Linked DNA regions of Homo sapiens: all the other regions are linked to region 3. Evidence: promoter capture Hi-C in 16 types of primary human blood cells and fetal thymus (Javierre and others, 2016). All regions are on one chromosome and are shown on one strand. Each heading gives the region's core, a stretch centred on a gene start or on the middle of the fragment in contact. The rest is flanking DNA. Distances are from core to core; before and after follow the strand shown.

Region 1 (2,700 bases), core at 148-2,647, 100 kb after region 3:
GAACTCCTGACCTCATGATCTGCCCACAGCCTCCCAAAGTGCTGGGATTACAGGCATGAGCCACTGCACCTGTCCAGTATTCTTTTAAATAGTGATTTTTTTTTTTTTTGAGATGGAGTCTTCTTGCTCTGTCACCCAGGTTGGAGTGCAGTGGCGCGATCACGTTTCACTACAACCTCCACCTCCCGGGTTCAAGCAATTCTCCTGCCTCAGTCTCCCTGGTAGCTGAGACTACAGGCGCCCACCACCACACCTGGCTAATTCTTGTATTTTTAGTACAGATGGGGTTTTGCCATGTTAGCCAGTCTGGTCTCAAACTTCTGACCTCAGGTGATCCACCCATCTTAGCCTCCCAAAGTGCTGGGATTACAGGCATGAGCCACCACACCCGGTCTAAATAGTGATTTCATCAGTACGTTTTAAATCTTAATTTATAAAAATGAAGCCAACTAACTCTTGCCCAAAGTAAAGGTGTGCTTCATGAACTATCTTGACAAAACTAGTATTCTGTGTCCTTAAACTACCTTACAGTGCTCATGTGAAGTTACAATAAATGTAGTCTTTTGTATTTAACCACGCGAAGGGTAGCTGCTTCTGGCATGACCTCTTTAAAATAGAAAAGTAATAGAAAGTATTCCGTAACAATATGACAAGGATGTGACAGTTTAATGTATGTATAGTATATAGTACAGGTTGAACACCTTTAATGAGAATCCAAAATCTGAAATGCTCTAAAATTGGAAACTTTGAATGCCAACATGATGCCACAGGTGGAAAATTCCACACTTTACCTCATTTGACAGGTTGCAGTCAAAACTTTGTTTCATGCACAAAAGGTATAAAATTATCTTCAGGCTATGTAAGGTATGTATGAAACATAGATGAATTTTGTGTTTAGACTTGGGTCCCATCTCCATGGTATCTCACTATGTATATGCAAATATACCAAAATGAAAAAGTCAGGACCAGGCATGGTAGCTCACACCTGTGAGTACTGGGATTCCAGTACTTTGGGAGGCTGAGGCTGGGGGGATTACTCCAGAACAAGAGTTTAAGGTCAGCCTGGGCGACATAGCAAGACCCTGTCTATTAAAAAAATTAAAAGCTCCAAAAAAAAATCAAAAATCAAAAACACTTTTGGCGTTAAAGAATCTTCAACATACCTGGGCACGGTGGCTCATCCCTGTAATCCCAGCACTTTGGGAGGCTGAGGCAGGTGGATCACCTGAGGTCAGGAGTTCAAGACCAGCCTGGCCAATATGGTGACACCCCATCTCTACCAAAAATACAAAAATTAGCCAGGCGTGGTGGCTTGTGTCTAGTCCCAGCTACTCGGGAAGCTGAGGCAGAAGAATCACTTGAACCCAGGAGGTGGAGGTTGCAGTGAGCCAAAGTGGTGCCACTGCAGTCCAGCCTGGGTGACAGAGCGAGACTCCGTCTCAAAAAAAAAAAAAAAGAATCTTCAACGTGTATAAAACATTTTTTAACCTGGTTTATTTTCATGATACTTTTCTCTAAAAAAGAGATTTAAATAAATAAAAATTTTAAAAAAGGAGATTAAATTCATGAGCCGAAACTGTTGTCTTTTTAATGGGGTATTAACTAAATGGGCTTGAGCCAATGATAATGAACTTTACATTGAAAATTTGCCTTCTCTTACAGCCTGCTGATCTTAAGAAGAGAATAGAATCTTTAATTGACCGGGACTACATGGAAAGAGATAAAGAAAATCCAAACCAGTACAACTATATTGCATAGAATGTTGGCCTTGCAGCATTTGGTGTCATATGCAGTAGCCAGTGGATAAACTAACCTGTTGATTCAATATTATTTGACTCCTTTTTTACTACCGATGACCAAATGAAGCAGTGTAATTAATGGAAATAGTTGAGTGGACTTTTTCTCAGTGGTTAACATGCCCATTTTAAAGAGTAATACTTACCTTTAAGAAGAATGTTGTTGAACTCTTTGCATGTTATTTAGTATGATGTGCAGAAAACACTTAAGAACGTACCTGGTCTTCATGAATTCCTCTTTGGAACTGGGAAAGAGATCCCTGTGGCTATTAAAAAGGGGGGAGGGTTCTTACACACCATTAATTATGAAGCAAAAGGTTTATTTGCTTAAAATGTCATTTAAAGATACTTAAACTGCATGCAAACTTTATTTACTGTACAGAGTTCTGGATGTATTTATCAAATAGAAAAACCACCCTTGACTTGGTTGTTCACCCGTTTTGTGATTTCCCTTGAAAAGAGAAATGAATTGTCATAGCTATTGATATTTTACTAGGTGATGTTCTGTTACACTGAAAGGGATGTTTTTTAAAAAAAATTATTTGGAAACAAGTTTTCAAGTAGGGGGACAGTTGCTTACATAATATCTTGTATATTCACATCCTAAAAATTTTCATTTATGAGTATGGGATGTGTGTATATGGCTTAGCCCCAAGTTAACTGTGCTGATTAACAAGTACTTATAAAAATAGCTAAAGTAGAAAATTAATGATCAGTTGTACTAGAGGAACATCATAGAAGAGAAAAATCCAACTCTTTATATTAAAAATGAATACAATAAGAAAATTGCAAAAGAGACCAAAATGAACGTGTTTTGTAAATTGTTACAGGAGCAAAAACTTTGCAACTAGTTTTCAACATACTTTAGACTTTAAATGTTGTTTGGACAGTTTTGTCTTCAACT
Region 2 (2,700 bases), core at 73-2,572, 83 kb after region 3:
GCTTTGTTCTGTTCAGGAAAATCCAAGAACGTTTAAGTAAATTTTAATTCAATTGTAGTAGGACTGCCCAACCCATCTGATACATAAACAACAGGTGAAATTCTTTTTTAAACCCAAAATGAAGCTCTGCTTGTGAAAATGATTAACATTTTAAACAAGACAGCTTTTTTATTTTTGAGACAAGGTCTCACTTTGTCCCCAGGCTAGAGTGCAGTGGCGTAGTCATGGTTCACTTCAACCTTGAACTCTTGGGCTCAAGTGATCCTCCTGCCTCAGCCTCCTAAATAGCTGGAACTACAGGTACACACCACTGGGCCCAGCTAATTTTTAAATTTTTTGTAGAGATGGGGTCTTGCTTTGTTTCTGTATTAGTCAGGGTTTTCTTAGAGGGACAGAACTACAGAACTAGTAGGAGATATATATAAAGGGGAGTTTATTAAGTGTTAAGTTACACGATCACAAGGTCCCACAATAGGCTGTCTGCAAGCTGAGGAGTAAGGAGAGCCAGGTTGATTCCCAAAACTGAAGAACTTGGAGTCTGATGTTCGAGGGCAGGAAGCATCCAGCATGGGAGAAAGATGTAGGCTGGGAGGCTAGGCCCTTCTCTCCTTTTCACTTTTTTTGGCCTGCTTTATATTCACTGGAAGCTGATTAGATTGTGCCCACCAGGTTAAGGATGGATCTGCCTTCCCCAGCCCACTGACTCAAATGTTAATCTCTTTTGGCAACACCCTCACAGACACACCCAGGATCAATACTTTGTATCCTTCAATCCAATCAAGTTGACACTCAGTAGTAACCATCACAGTTGCCTAGGCTGTTCTAGCCTGGCATCAAGCAATCCTCTCACCTTGGCCCCCCAAAATGTTGGGATTACAGGCATGAACCACTGTACCCAGCCCAAGTAGGATTTTCTTTGAGCAGCATGTTGGCACTCAAAAAGTTTCAGATTTTTGAGCTTTTTGGATTTCAGATTTTTAGATTAAAGATGCTAAACCTGTAATTTGTTCTTTTTTGATACAGTGCATTGGTTATGAGAAAGTTTGCCACCCACATTGATATATTTTGTTGTTTTACCTTGTGTCTTAAGTGGATGAATAACCCTTTTTAATAAGCTGATGTGGTAGAAATATCAAATTAATAAGAATCTGATGTAAATAGTTGAGAAATCCTTCATCCTCTCCTTAAGAAAGTATTTTAACCTTGCAGGCTGTAGAAAATCTCTGTTCTTACAAGATTTCTGCAAACTTGTACAAACAGCTGAGACAGATCTGCGAAGATCACATCAAAGCACAGATTCATCAATTCAGAGAATATCCTTTTTAAAACAAAAAATCGTGAATAGTTTTGTCTTCCTCTCTGTCCCTACCCCTCACTGTTTAACCCAGCTTGAAGTAGAATGCCTGTATTTTGTAGGTTTGTCATTTTTTGTGCCTTGTGTTTCTCGAGAAAGAAACACATTTTGACTTTTCAGCCTTAATTCGTGTCCAGGACTACGTGTGGTATTCATGTAAATAAGATGTCCTTATGTCTTTATCCTTTTTGCCCTATCAGATTTCCACTTGAGGAAAAATAATCTCCTAAGGGAAATAGTAAACTGAAAACACGATGTTCAGTTATGTCTAAGACTTGTTTTTAAAGGTGTTTTTTAGTATAAACTATGTTTTTTTTTTCTTTTACAAATTAGGAAATAGCACTTTGGTGCATAATCAAGTGCCATTTAGTTTCACTTAGTGTGCAAGGTATTCATGTTTAAGACTAATATGCTCTCTGTCACATGGCACATATGACTTGTACCAAACGCTTTAAAATATCCTTAACATATGTTTCAGGGATTCATTGGATAGCGTTCTTTTTTTAAAGAAGATTGATAGATGCTGGCAAAACCATTGCAGACAAATGGTAAGCTGGAAAAAGTATTGTATTTCGGCTAAACATTGTATTAATAGTTAAAAACATTTCTTCAAATACAGGAATGTTAGTTTTTAAAACTTAGCAATAGGGAGATTGCTTCAATATCTATTCCTTTTCTTTTTTTTTCTTTTTTTAAAAATTTATTTATTTTTTATTTTCCCGTAAGTTATTGGGGTACAGGTGACATTTGGTTACATGAGTAAGTTCCTTAGTGGTGATTTGTAAGATTTTGGTGCACCCTTCACCAGAGCAGTATACATTGCACCATTGTAGTCTTTTATCCCTCGCCCCCCTCCCACTCTTCCTCCCAAGTTCCTTTTCTGAATTGGAAACTAGTTTTGGTTGAGTTTTCTATTTTAAAACCACAAGTTACAGGTAAACCTGCATTTCAGAATGTCTTGCACCTTAGGTTCATTTTTATTTTTGTCACACTTACCAAAAATGTATTTATCTCATTCATTAAAAAGCTACATTTCGTCTGTCACTCTTATTTTTTTTTCTCTCTTGATGATTATCCTGTCCACTATTTGATTACCTGTGAAGGTGCCTGATGGTCCTGTGTTTTAGTTTATTCAGATAACAACCTTTTCCATTTTTCTTAATCTGGTTTATACCTTATATTCTACAGATTAAAATCTTAAAATCCATCACCCCTCCCCACCCCCACCCCCTGCCAATAAAAACCCTCACATGTGCAATGTAAGGCAGCTTCATTCCCTAGCACTGTGGCGCAGGAAGAATTATATGAGCGTCCCCTTGATTTTTCAGTTACTTCTCAAGCAGTAA
Region 3 (2,700 bases), core at 80-2,579:
AGGCAGAGGCTGCAGTGAACCGAGATCCCGCCATTGCACTCCAGCCTGGGCAAAAAGAACGAAACTCGGTCTCAAAAAAAAAAAAAAAAAAAAGAGACACATCAAATATTTCGTGGAAAGAGAGCTCTGCACTCTTAATTAGAAGACCTGGGGGCCGTGCGCAGTGGCTCAAGCCTGTAATCCCAGCACTTTGGGAGGCCGAGGCGGGTGGATCACCTGAGGTCAGGAATTCAAGACCAGCCTGGCCAACCCCGTCTCTACTAATAATACAAAAATTAGCCGGGCGTGGTGGCGGGCGTCTGTAATCCCAGCTGCTAGGGAGGCTGAGGTAGAAGAATCGCTTGAACCCGGGAGGCAGAGGTTGCAGTGAGCCGAGATCGTGCCATTGCACTCCAGCCTGGGCAACAAGAGTGAAACTCCGTCTCAAAAAAAAAAAAAAAAGAGACCTGGATTCCAGTCCCACCTCTGCCATTAACTTGCTGTGTGGACTTTTGAAATTTCCTTATCCTTTTTAGGCCTGGTTCCTCAGCTGTAGTTCTAATATTCATTAATTCCACTAATATTTACTGTCCACTGCGTGCTGGCACTGTGGTTAAGTACTAGAAATACTGGGGTGAATAATAACAGCCAGTACTTTTTAGTAAATGCTTACTCTAGGCTTGAAATTTTGCTAAGGGAGTCATATGCACTATCTCATCTAATTTTCTATGAAATAGGCACTACTGTGACATTTTCTGTACTTTACAAATGAGGGAACTGAGGCACAGCGAGGTGAAATAACTTTCCTGGGATATCAAAAGGTGTGGTGAAGACAGGATTGGATTCCAGGCAGTGGGGCTTCAGATCTCATTCCAGTAATAATAGGAAACCGTTGGTGTCATAATTACGTGACTATTTCAGTGGCTTGCGTTTTGGTCTCAGCCCAGGAGTACTGGGGGGGTGGGCAATATGAGGGTTCAAGGACGCAGGGGTACATCAGAGAAACCATCAAGAGGTCTGATAAAAAGCGACACCGGGAGCAAGAATCTCTCGCTCTCGCAATTTCCATGCCAGGAAGGTGAAATGGGAGGTGTCAGCGAGTCGTACGCACGGCCTCTTCTCTGGACGCCCGTTGGGTAAAGGAGAGCGTCCGGGTCACGCAGGCCTATAGCAAGTCTCTGAACTCGGCAGGGGGCGGGGAGAAAGGGCACGCAGTGTGCGCGCAGCGGGCGCGCCGGCCCTTCCGACGCCTGCGCGGGCGGGCAAACGGACGGCTCCGCCCAGCCGCCGGCTCCTTTACCCCGCCCCACTACCCCCGCCTTCGCGGCGCTCGTTTCCTGGCGCTCCCCACCTTTAGCGAGACCAACGAGAGAACACCGCCTGCAGCTAGAACAGCCTGGTCAGGAGCGTAACGGAGTGGTGCGCCAACGTGAGAGGAAACCCGTGCGCGGCTGCGCTTTCCTGTCCCCAAGCCGTTCTAGACGCGGGTGAGTGGCGGGGCCTCGACCCCCACCCCAAGCGCACCCTGACTCCCCTCCCTCTCTTGGGGGAGGCCTGGGCCCCAGCCCTCTCCCAGCATGCTCCACGCGGGATGCTTGGGCAGGTGCAGCGGGAGGATTGTCAGCACAGGAGACCGAGAGTCTTCTTCCTGGGGGCGCTCTCTTGGTCCCTCAGAGGGATATCGAGGTTACCATGTCCTCCCTCTCACTTCTCTTCCCTATTTCGTCTTCGTTTTCCGTACTTCACCCCAACTACCTTCACCCAAAAAGGTTCATCTAAAAACCATTGGGGTAGTTTCTGTTTCATTTGTGCTCGTGTGCAGTTTTGTTTCCTTCTGCACAAAGTATCCTATCATATGCATCCCTAGTGTTATATTTTTTGCCTCTGTGATGGGGAAAAAATCTCCTTAGAATAATTTTTGCAAATTATTTTATTTAAAATGTGTAGACTTACTGAGTTTTGATCACTATTTTTGCAGCCAGGAGTAGGATCACCATCAGGAAGAATTCTGACACATATGCCATAATTGAGCAAAGAAACATGTGAATTATGTATTGGCCAGAAATAATGAAAACTGCGTGACATGAAATACAAAAATCCTATATAAATTAATCTTAGAGTGCACCTGACAATTCTTTTTCTTTTTTCTTTCTTTCTTTCTTTTTTTTTTTTGAAACAGAGTCTCGCTCTTGTTGCCCAGGCCGGAGTGCTGTGGTGCGATCTTGGCTCACTGCCTGCAACCTCCGCCTCCCGGGTTCAAGCAATTCTCCTGCCTCAGCCTCCTGAGTAGCTGGGATTACAGTCATATGCCACCATGCCCGGCTAATTTTTGTATTTTTAGTCGAGACAGGGTCTCACCATGTTGGCCAGGCTGGTCTTGAACTCCCTACCTCAGGTGATCCACCTGCCTCGGCCTCCCAAAGTGCTGGGATTACAGGCGTGAGCCACCGCACACAGCCGACAATTCTAATATTATGCCGAGCTTGTTTTCTGTCACTTCTCTTCTTGGAACTGTGTTTATTGACCAAGTTCTGTGAGTGACACAGGAAAGTCTTCCTGCCTCTTGCCCCACCCACCGCTCAGAAATTACATCTGCCAAGCTATTCCACACCTTGTCTTTCTGGTAGAAGTCAAAATTCCATTTCCTCTAGCAGAAAACCACAGGAGTGGTTTCCTTGTAGCAATATGGTGCTGTTGGGTGCAAAATATCAGTTATGGTCA

The links. Contacts are between HindIII fragments. The CHiCAGO score rates a contact against its expected background, and 5 or more counts as called.
Region 1: a contact is called between a fragment that was not itself captured here and the fragment with the promoter of C1GALT1C1 in region 3, in 1 of 17 cell types (neutrophils). The highest score is 5.3, in neutrophils.
Region 2: a contact is called between a fragment that was not itself captured here and the fragment with the promoter of C1GALT1C1 in region 3, in 8 of 17 cell types (neutrophils, naive CD4 T cells, total B cells and 5 more). The highest score is 8.0, in neutrophils.

Annotation. Positions count from the first base shown.
Region 1 is chrX:120,525,819-120,528,518 of GRCh38, reverse strand. CUL4B (cullin 4B) reads left to right here. Exons shown (of 20, transcript NM_001079872.2): 20 at 1,663-2,700. The coding sequence ends at 1,758. Among named protein-coding and RNA genes, the nearest start is that of CUL4B, 34 kb to the left of the region's middle. The HindIII fragment of the contact is 3,448 bases long and covers 1-2,700 here.
Region 2 is chrX:120,545,749-120,548,448 of GRCh38, reverse strand. CUL4B (cullin 4B) reads left to right here. Exons shown (of 20, transcript NM_001079872.2): 3 at 1,210-1,313; 4 at 1,833-1,902. Among named protein-coding and RNA genes, the nearest start is that of CUL4B, 14 kb to the left of the region's middle. The HindIII fragment of the contact is 4,280 bases long and covers 1-2,700 here.
Region 3 is chrX:120,628,683-120,631,382 of GRCh38, reverse strand. C1GALT1C1 (C1GALT1 specific chaperone 1) reads left to right here and starts at 1,329. Exons shown (of 2, transcript NM_001011551.3): 1 at 1,329-1,466. RefSeq lists a silencer at 1,092-1,361 and an enhancer at 1,021-1,948. The HindIII fragment of the contact is 14,165 bases long and covers 1-2,700 here.